Regions from separate parts of the Homo sapiens genome. Here region 1 is linked to region 2. Evidence: promoter capture Hi-C in human tissues and cell types (Jung and others, 2019). All regions are on one chromosome and are shown on one strand. The core of a region is centred on a gene start or on the middle of the fragment in contact, and the rest is flanking DNA. Distances in the headings are between cores, read along the strand shown. Region 1 overlaps LCK (LCK proto-oncogene, Src family tyrosine kinase). Region 2 holds the start of TMEM234 (transmembrane protein 234).

The links. The method cuts DNA at HindIII sites, captures the fragments that hold promoters and counts their contacts. A contact is called where the count stands out against the background at its distance.
Region 1: a fragment that was not itself captured here is called in contact with the fragment with the promoter of TMEM234 in region 2 in 1 of the 25 tissues and cell types used here (small bowel).

What each region holds. Positions count from the first base shown.
Region 1 is chr1:32,274,452-32,279,215 of GRCh38, forward strand. It overlaps LCK (LCK proto-oncogene, Src family tyrosine kinase), which reads left to right. Exons shown (of 13, transcript NM_005356.5): 3 at 286-367; 4 at 542-632; 5 at 870-968; 6 at 1,118-1,221; 7 at 1,463-1,612; 8 at 1,886-2,038; 9 at 2,156-2,335. Among named protein-coding and RNA genes, the nearest start is that of HDAC1, 15 kb to the right of the region's middle. The HindIII fragment of the contact is 9,449 bases long and covers 1-4,764 here.
Region 2 is chr1:32,221,103-32,226,133 of GRCh38, forward strand. TMEM234 (transmembrane protein 234) reads right to left here and starts at 1,251. Exons shown (of 5, transcript NM_019118.5): 1 at 1,205-1,251; 2 at 765-916; 3 at 29-95. The coding sequence starts at 1,220. EIF3I (eukaryotic translation initiation factor 3 subunit I) reads left to right here and starts at 1,305. Exons shown (of 11, transcript NM_003757.4): 1 at 1,305-1,342; 2 at 1,436-1,528; 3 at 2,932-3,019; 4 at 3,308-3,373. The coding sequence starts at 1,340. RefSeq lists enhancers at 524-1,723, 1,000-1,633. The HindIII fragment of the contact is 14,812 bases long and covers 1-5,031 here.

The DNA of each region.
Region 1 (4,764 bases), core at 133-2,632, 53 kb after region 2:
GGCCTTGGTGAGGGAGTTGGGTAGAGAATGCAACCCAGGAGAAAGAAATGACCAGCACTACAGGCCCTTGAAAGAATAGAGTGGCCCTCTCCCCTGAAATACAGAAAGGAAAAGAGGCCCAGAGAGGGGAAGGGAATCTCCTAAGATCACACAGAAAGTAGTTGGTAAACTCAGGGATAACATCTAACCAGGCTGGAGAGGCTGAGAGCAGAGCAGGGGGGAAGGGGGCCAGGGTCTGACCCAATCTTCTGCTTTCTGACCCCACCCTCATCCCCCACTCCACAGCTGCTCATCCGAAATGGCTCTGAGGTGCGGGACCCACTGGTTACCTACGAAGGCTCCAATCCGCCGGCTTCCCCACTGCAAGGTGACCCCAGGCAGCAGGGCCTGAAAGACAAGGCCTGCGGATCCCTGGCTGTTGGCTTCCACCTCTCCCCCACCTACTTTCTCCCCGGTCTTGCCTTCCTTGTCCCCCACCCTGTAACTCCAGGCTTCCTGCCGATCCCAGCTCGGTTCTCCCTGATGCCCCTTGTCTTTACAGACAACCTGGTTATCGCTCTGCACAGCTATGAGCCCTCTCACGACGGAGATCTGGGCTTTGAGAAGGGGGAACAGCTCCGCATCCTGGAGCAGTGAGTCCCTCTCCACCTTGCTCTGGCGGAGTCCGTGAGGGAGCGGCGATCTCCGCGACCCGCAGCCCTCCTGCGGCCCTTGACCAGCTCGGGGTGGCCGCCCTTGGGACAAAATTCGAGGCTCAGTATTGCTGAGCCAGGGTTGGGGGAGGCTGGCTTAAGGGGTGGAGGGGTCTTTGAGGGAGGGTCTCAGGTCGACGGCTGAGCGAGCCACACTGACCCACCTCCGTGGCGCAGGAGCGGCGAGTGGTGGAAGGCGCAGTCCCTGACCACGGGCCAGGAAGGCTTCATCCCCTTCAATTTTGTGGCCAAAGCGAACAGCCTGGAGCCCGAACCGTAAGTGGGGACCCGTCGTGGGGGTGGGTAGGAGCAGATCTAGGGATCCTGGAGCAGGGAGTAGGCCTGGGGTGGCGGTGAAGGCTTGAGGGCCACGGAGGAAGATCCGACGACAGCCGACGGCCTTCGTTCGCTTCCGCCCTGCACAGCTGGTTCTTCAAGAACCTGAGCCGCAAGGACGCGGAGCGGCAGCTCCTGGCGCCCGGGAACACTCACGGCTCCTTCCTCATCCGGGAGAGCGAGAGCACCGCGGGTGAGCGGGCGGCGGTCTCGACCGGGCGCGGGGGTGCCCCGGGGTGTGCCCGAGGGGGGGCGCAGGGTGAGCCCGAGGTGGAGACACGGGGTGAGTCGGAGGGGGACGCGGGATGAGCCCGAGGTGGGGGCGCGGGATGACCCGGAGTTGGGGGTGCTGGGTGAGCCCAAGGTGGGGGCGCGGTGGCGGGCCAGACTCACTGCGTTCTTTCGTCGCTTTGTCCATCCATTCATTCATTCAGGATCGTTTTCACTGTCGGTCCGGGACTTCGACCAGAACCAGGGAGAGGTGGTGAAACATTACAAGATCCGTAATCTGGACAACGGTGGCTTCTACATCTCCCCTCGAATCACTTTTCCCGGCCTGCATGAACTGGTCCGCCATTACACCAGTGAGCCCGACGGGACCCCTCCCCCGTGCCCTATCAGCCTATCTCCCCTCAGTCCCCCTCAGGTGTCCCCCATCCATCTTTCAATGCCCTACTCCATTCCCCGCAGTGGGTGAGGTGTGGAACCTGACCCTACGGCCCCAAGTGTTTGGGTGACAGCCCCACACCCCCTTGCTAGTCCACTTCACCTAGATGGGGGCTTGGAGAAGTGGGGGAGGTGGTGTCAATACGAGGCCTGCCCTATTGACAGCCTTCACCCCTCCCTCGTCCTCGCAGATGCTTCAGATGGGCTGTGCACACGGTTGAGCCGCCCCTGCCAGACCCAGAAGCCCCAGAAGCCGTGGTGGGAGGACGAGTGGGAGGTTCCCAGGGAGACGCTGAAGCTGGTGGAGCGGCTGGGGGCTGGACAGTTCGGGGAGGTGTGGATGGGTGAGTGTGGCCTCCAGGACTGCCTGGGAAGAGGGGAACGGGAGGGGCCGCTGAGGTGATGAGAGTCCCAGGACAGCTGCCTGGCGACTTTCCCACTCCTTCCCTTCCCCGACCCAGGGTACTACAACGGGCACACGAAGGTGGCGGTGAAGAGCCTGAAGCAGGGCAGCATGTCCCCGGACGCCTTCCTGGCCGAGGCCAACCTCATGAAGCAGCTGCAACACCAGCGGCTGGTTCGGCTCTACGCTGTGGTCACCCAGGAGCCCATCTACATCATCACTGAATACATGGAGAATGGTGGGTGCTACCCGAGTCGGCTACCAGGGGATACTGCTCTCCCTGCTGTCCCTGCCAGAGGGTGGAAATACACCTTTTCTTCTGGCCCAAAGCTCAAGCAAGGAGGGTTTCTTGAGCTTTCCTGCCCCCTGGAGACTCACCTCCAGCCGGGCGCGGTGGCTCAGGCCTGTAATCCCAGCACTTTGGGAGCCGAGGCGGGCAGATCACGAGGTCAGGAGTTCGAGACCAGCCTGACCAATATGGTGAAACTCTGTCTCTACTAAAAATACAAAAAGTAGCCAGGTGTGGTGGCACATGCCTGTAATCCCAGCTACTCAGAAGACTGAGGCAGGAGAATCCCTTTAATCCGGGAGGTGGAGGCTACAGTTGCAGTGAGCTGAGATCATGCCACTGAACTCCAGCCTGGGTGACAGAGCAAGACTCTATCAAAAAAAAAAAAAAAAAAAAGACTCACCTCCAGGCATGAGAAAAAGGTGTATCCTCTGATCTGATCCTGTCTGGGGGCAAGCCTAAGGTGGCAAGAATGTTCTGGAAGAGCATTCACCCCAACCTTCCCTGACCTGCCATTCTGTTTGCCTTCTTCAAAGCCCTACCTTGATCTCAGGATGCTTGATCTCAGAAAGCAAGTGGGTCCCTAGCCCTGTTTCTCTCCCTTCTGCCCCTGAGCCCTAGGAGGGCAGATCTGCCCCCAAAGCCCTCTTTTTCAGTTCTGAGTGAGACCCCCACCCCTGCACCCCTCTTGGTCTGTTACTGGACAGAGTGAGAGCCCCAGGAAGAGGAATATGAGTTTCTAGCTTCAGCTTTGTTCACACCGATTTGCCGTGTGACAGGCCAAGTGCCTGCACTGTCTCTGGTGCTCAGTTTCCCCAAGTATAACAGCAGAAATCTAAATGGGCTCACCAGAAATAATACAGAGTATTCATCAAGGCCTCTAGAGTCTGACTGCCTGGGTCAGAAGCCTGGCTTCATGATTTTATGGCTTTGTGATAATTATATCACCTCTTTCTGCCATGGTTTCCTACTATAATAACGCGTTAGTAACTTCCTCACAGGGTCTTGTGAGGATGAAATAATTAATGCATACAGAGCAGTTAGAACTATGCCTACTTCCAGGTGCTGTGGCTCAAGCCTATAACTCCAGCACTTTGGGAGGCCAAGGTGGGTGGATCACTTGAGCCCAGAAGTTCAAGACCAGTCTGTGCAACATAGCGAGACTTCATTCCTACAAAAAAATGTTTAAAAATTAGCTGGGCATAGTGGTGTATGCCTGTAGTCCCAGCTACTTGGGAGGCTGAGGTGGGAGGATCACTTGAGCCCAGGAGGTTGAGGCTGCACTGAGCTGTGATTGCACCACTGCACTCCAACCTGGGTAACAGAGCGAGACCTTGTCTCAAAACAAAAAACCCACAAAACTATGGCTACCATATAGTAACTGATCAATAAGTTTGTTGCTGTTATCTGGCTCTGATTCTTTGGGAGTGTAAGATCTATCCTTTTTTCAGGAAGAGAAACAAGCTGTTCATTGGCTAATGGGAAATGGCAAATAGATTATGTCATGTGTATCTTTTTTTTTTTTGAGTCTCACTCTGTCCTCCAGGCTGGAGTGCAGTGGCATGATCTCGGCTCACTTCAGCCTCCCCCTCCTGGGTTCAAATGATTCTCATGCCTCAGTCTCCCAAGTAGCTGGGACTACAAGCATGTGCCACCATGCCTGGCTAATTTTTGTATTTTTAGTAGAGACAGGTTTTCGCCTTGTTGGCTAGGCTGGTCTCGATCTCCTGTCCTCAGGTGATCCTCCCGCCTTGGCCTCCCAAAGTGCTGGGATTACAGATGTGAGCCACCATGCCCAGCCTATCATGTGTATCGACTTTGATTGGTAGTTGCTTGTAGTGCTGGAGAAGGATTCTGAGGTTCATTGGAAGTGAGTGCCAGGAATGATTAGTAACATCTGCCATGGATACAATGGAAGAATGGCAGTATATCTATGTCTATGTATTTGCTGTGTGTAGGTGAGGTCTTTGTCTTTGGTAACTAGTTCAGCACTCAAAGTGGGGACACTCAGGTTGCTGTCATCCTTTTACAGGGTTTTAATCTCTTGGGAAGGGCCATTGGTCACTCACTGCATCCTAGCAACTCCCATCCATGTCCAGCTGCCCTCCACTATTAGAGAGGTGGTCCCTCAGACCCCCAGACCCCCTCTTTCTTATTCCATCCAATATATTCAGCACATAGTTATTGTTTCTTACTCTCGGCTGGGCACCAGGAACATGGATGGATGAAACAAGGTTCCTGTTGTCAGGGAAACCTGATTTTAGTTACAGCTACTGGGGAAACCAGAGTTTGTGCCATGGGAAAGTTCCAGCATGCCCATGGGAGTGTAGATGATGATCCAGTTTATTATGCCTGGTAGGATCTAGAGAGGCTTCCTA
Region 2 (5,031 bases), core at 1-2,500:
AGCAGAACAGTTCCAAGCCAGGACCCACCTGTCGATGCCAAGGTGAGGTAATAGAGAAGGGATCCACACTGGTTGAGGAGAAAGGGCATCAGGTACTGGAAAGAGGAGAAACCTGCAGTCAGTGTGATGGCCTGACTGAGCAGCACTGCCTTCTTTGAGCTCCTAGCGAATGTCTTTCCTTGGAGGGAGGCAGGGTTATAAGGACCCAGAGAACACTAATCCCTCTAAGGAGGATCCTTCCAGGGCAAAGAGGGAAACAGACTGAAGTCTGTGCCTTTGCTCAAACTACCCTCTCCCTCACCTCTGCTAGTTCCCATCCTGCAAGGCCTTGAAGCCAATGTCAGCCCCTCCAGGAAGCCTTCCCCAAGTCCTCCAGCTCCAGCCTTCCTCCTCTGAACTCCTCCCCTGCAGGGCCAATTTGAGCCCCAAGCCCTCCCTCTGGAAAGGCTCACAAATGTTGCCTTATGTAACTGAAGGAATCACAATAAAATGTGAATAATGGCAGCCATAGATTGAGCACTTACTATGTTCTAGGCCTAATGCTAAGTGCTCTACGTATCTCACCTAATTCCTGCAACTGACCTATCAGATGGTTATTATTATAATCGCCATTTACAGATGATGAAACTGAGGCTCAAGGACAACTGACTTTTCCGAGAATTTCTAGTGAGTAAGTGGTGGGGCTGACCCAGACCTGTTTGACTCCAAAGACCAAATTCTTGGCGGCAACTCCACCGAGAGAGGGGCCTTTCACAGAGACGCACCTCAGTATTCAAGAAGAGGGTCTTCATCTCCTGTAGCAACTGCTGGGCCCAGGTCGGCTCATGAACCCGCTGCAGGCCGGCGGAGGCCCGCTTCAGCAGCGGCTGCGTGCCACCCCACAGAGCGGCCACCAGCACCAGAGCCAACACCTGCCCTGAATGCAGACGAGTGAGTCACCCTGACCCCCACCCCAAACGGCCGCCCACCCCGCCCTCTCCTGGCCTTCTAGCCCCAGCTAGCCGCCCCCACTTCCCTCCTTCGCTCTCTTCGCCTCGGCTGCGACTGGCGGCTAAGGCAGGCCCAGGGAAGCTAGGGAGATGAATCCAGGAGTCCGGCCTCTGGGGTTGTAGCAGGGGTCGGGGTTAGAGGGTGGATGTGGAGCAGGAAATGAATTCGAGGCGAGGGTCGGGAAATCCATGGAAGGGCGGGGCCGGCTACCTACCCAGAGACGCCGCCATGGCAACGCCGCTGTCTTCTACTTCCGGGAACGAAGGGGCGGAGACCCATAATCCGGAAGTGACCTCGAAACCTTTTCCGGTCTTACTCACGTTGCGGCCTTCCTCGCGTCACAGCCGGGATGGTGAGTTTCAGAGTTAGGGGTATTGCAGTGGGGGTCCTGGGCTGAGGCTGGGGCCCAATTCCGAGCACTGACGTTACTGTCTTGTCCCCACAGAAGCCGATCCTACTGCAGGGCCATGAGCGGTCCATTACGCAGATTAAGTATAACCGCGAAGGAGACCTCCTCTTTACTGTGGCCAAGGACCCTGTGAGTGTTGGCTGGAGGGGGTCCGGGAGGGGCGGGATCCTTCTGCCAGGACGATGGGTGGACACGCCAGTTTTGCCGTTAGCGGGGAACCAAAGAGCAGCCCATTGTGAGAAGTAGGGAGAGGCCATGCCGGGGGTAGGTTGGCGAAAGTATTCTACCGGGAAAGGTGGGGAAGAACTCTATTGGCCGAGTGCGGTGGCTCACGCCTGTAATCCCAGCACTTTGAGAGGCCGAGGTGGGAGGGTCGCTTGAGCCCAGGAGTTGGAGACCAGCCTGAGCAACGTAGTAAGACCCATCTCTACACACAAAAAAATTAGCCTGACATGGTGGCCTCGCGCCTGTGGTCTCAGCTACTTCGGAGTCTGAAACGAGAGGATCGCTTGAGCGCGGTGAGCTGAGATCGTGCCACTGCACTCCAAGAAAAGCAAGAGACCACTGTGGAAAGGGGATAAAGATGAGGGTCAGCTTGCCCAGAGAACGGGATGCGACCTTTAGGGATAATCTAATCTTTCTACCAGGATAGGTGCAGGCTGTGTTATTCAGACACAGGGAACTTAATGAGGGTGTCTCTAGTCTCATTTTAAGTCAATCCCATCCTGCTACTCAATGCCAAACAATCCCTCATGATACTGCCTTTTGAGGCACCTGGCCATTTTATTTTATTTTTTCTTGAGACGGAGTCTCGCTCTGTCGCCTAGGCTGGAGTGCAGTGGCGCGATCTCGACTCACTGCAACCTCTGCCTCCCAGGTTCAAGCGATTCTCCTGCCTCAACCTCCCTAGTAGCTGGGACTACAGGCTCGTGCCACCATGCCCAGCTAATTTTTTGTATCTTTAGTAGAGATGGGGTTTCACCATGTTGGACAGGCTTGTCTTGAACTCCTGACCTCAGGTGATCCGCCTGCCTCGGCCTCCCAAAGTGCTAGGATTACAGGCATGAGTCACCACACCCGGCCTGGCCATTTTCAAGATGAGAAAACTGAAGTTCAGAGGAGAGAAGCACTGTATTTGAGATCATATAGTGAGACAGTGGCAGAGCAGGCACCAGAACCCAGACTTCCTTACTACCAGCTGCTCCCACTTGGATAAGACATCAGAGATACTGTTTTTCTGGACTGGAGCTCAACTTGGCCTTTTATTCTTTGGAGCCGTTGGGAGTCCCAGGAGAGCTGGAGCTAACAAATGAGGATGCCTTTACAAGCCGCCTGACTCCTCTGTTGCTTCCCTTCAGGAAGGGAGGAGAATCCAGGAGTTGGTCTTTTTACCAGCTCCCTGCTGTTTCCCAAGAAATAAACAGAAGAGGGCAGAATCAGCCTTGCTACAGGCTGCTGAGGGTTCCTGGGGCAAAATAGGAAGCCATTGCTCTTACTGGGATGTGTACTATCCTGTGGTTTGACTTTTCCAGATCGTCAATGTATGGTACTCTGTGAATGGTGAGAGGCTGGGCACCTACATGGGCCATACCGGAGCTGTGTGGTGTGTGGACGCTGACTGTATCCTTATTTTGGGTCTGAGTCCGTGTTGCTAGGGTCTGTCAGCGATGGAGAGGCTGAGTTGGGAGTTGGGAGTTGGGGGTGCTGTTGAGGGCCTAGAGAACGATACCTCCTACTCCCTGGTCTCTTCACTGACTGAGGAAACATTCAGGACAAATTCCAGTTCTGGATAAGGAGGTAAGAGGGGTAGAAAGGCTCTTTGGGGCTGAACAGGGAGATGATTCACTTGGCATCCCAAGAGGACAAGGGCTCGGGTGAACTTCGTCATATTTCTTAACAACTCTTCAGGGGACACCAAGCATGTCCTCACTGGCTCAGCTGACAACAGCTGTCGTCTCTGGGACTGTGAAACAGGTAAGCTGGGTTCATTCACCTTTTTAGCAAATATTGAGGACCTACAGTGTACCTGTTTGAGTAAACAGGTCCTAGGAAAATAGAGATGAAATCCATAGATAGTTTCCAGTCTAGGGAATAAGAGACAAGAAAGATAGATGAGAAAATACACGCCATGGTAGAGGAAGCATAGATTAAGTTTTCTTTTTTTTTTTTTTTTTCTTTTTCTTATTTTGGAGACAGAGTCTCACTGTCACCCAGGCTGGAGAGCAATGGCACTATCTCGGCTCACTGCAACCTCTGTCTCCCGGGTTCAAGGGATTCTCCTGTCTCAGCCAGCCCCAGTAGCTGGGATTATAGGCGCACGCCACCATGCTTGGCTGATTTTTTTTTTTGAGACAGATTCTCTCGCTGTGTCACCCAGGCTGGAGTGCAGTGGCACAATCTTGGCTTACTGCAACCTCCGCCTCCCAGGTTCAAGTGATTCTCCTGCCTCAGCCTCCCAAATAGCTGGGATTACAGACATGCGCCATCACACCTGGCTAATTTTTGTATTTTTAGTAGAGACAGGGTTTCACCATGTTGGCCAGACTGGTCTCAAACTCCAGACCTCAGGTAATCCACCCACCTCGGCCTTCCAAAGTGCTGGGATTACAGGCATGAGCCACTGCACCTGGCCACCAGCTAATTTTTGTATTTTTAGTAGAGACAGGGTTTCACCATGTTGGCCAGGCTGGTCTCGAACTCCTCAGCTCAAGTGATCCACCCGCCTTGGCCTCCCAAAGTGCTGAGATTACAGGCACAAGCCACTGTGCCCAGCCTAAGCTGTTCTGTTTAGTGCCAGGTCTATGCTGGGTACTGGGGACATGGAGGGAAATCAGATCAGGTCTTTGCTGTGGAGAAGCACAGTCTGAGGGAGAGACAGATATATTGCAGTCTACGTATGAGTAGTGCCACATTAGCAGGATGTCTGAGGAAAGAGTCTAGGTAAGAAGTTAAAATACTTGGCCAGGTGTGGTGGCTCACGCCTGTAATCCCAGCACTTTGGGAGGTTGAGGCAGGTGGATCACCTGAGGTCAGGAGTGCAAGACCAGCCTGGCCAACATGGTGAAACCCCGTCTATTAAAAATACAAAAATGAGCCAGGCATGGTGGTGGGCACCTGTAATCCCATCGACTCAGGAGGCTGAGGCAGAAGAATCGCTTGAAAGGTTGCAGTGAGCCGAGATCACACCATCGCACAGCAGCCTGCAGGACAAGAGCGAAACTCCATCTCAAAAAAAAAAAGGCCGGGCGCGGTGGCTCACACCTGTAATCCCAGCACTTTGGGAGGCTGAGGCGGGCGGATCACGGGTCAGGAGATCAAGACCATCCTGGCTAACACGGTGAAATCCCGTCTCTACTAAAAATACAAAAAATTAGCGGGGCATGGTGGCAGGCGCCTGTAGTCCCAGCTACTTGGGAGGCTGAGGCAGGAGAATGGCGTGAACCCGGGAGGCGGAGCTTGCAGTGAGAGCCGAGATTGCACCACTGCACTCCAGCCTGGGCAACAGAGTGAAACTGTCTCAAAAAAGAAAAAAAAAAAGAAAAGTTAAAATACTTTTTAAGTTTGGGTCACTGGAGCAAGACAAACAGTGAGATGTGATGGTAGCATTCTCTAGAATGTCCTCCCTGCAATTG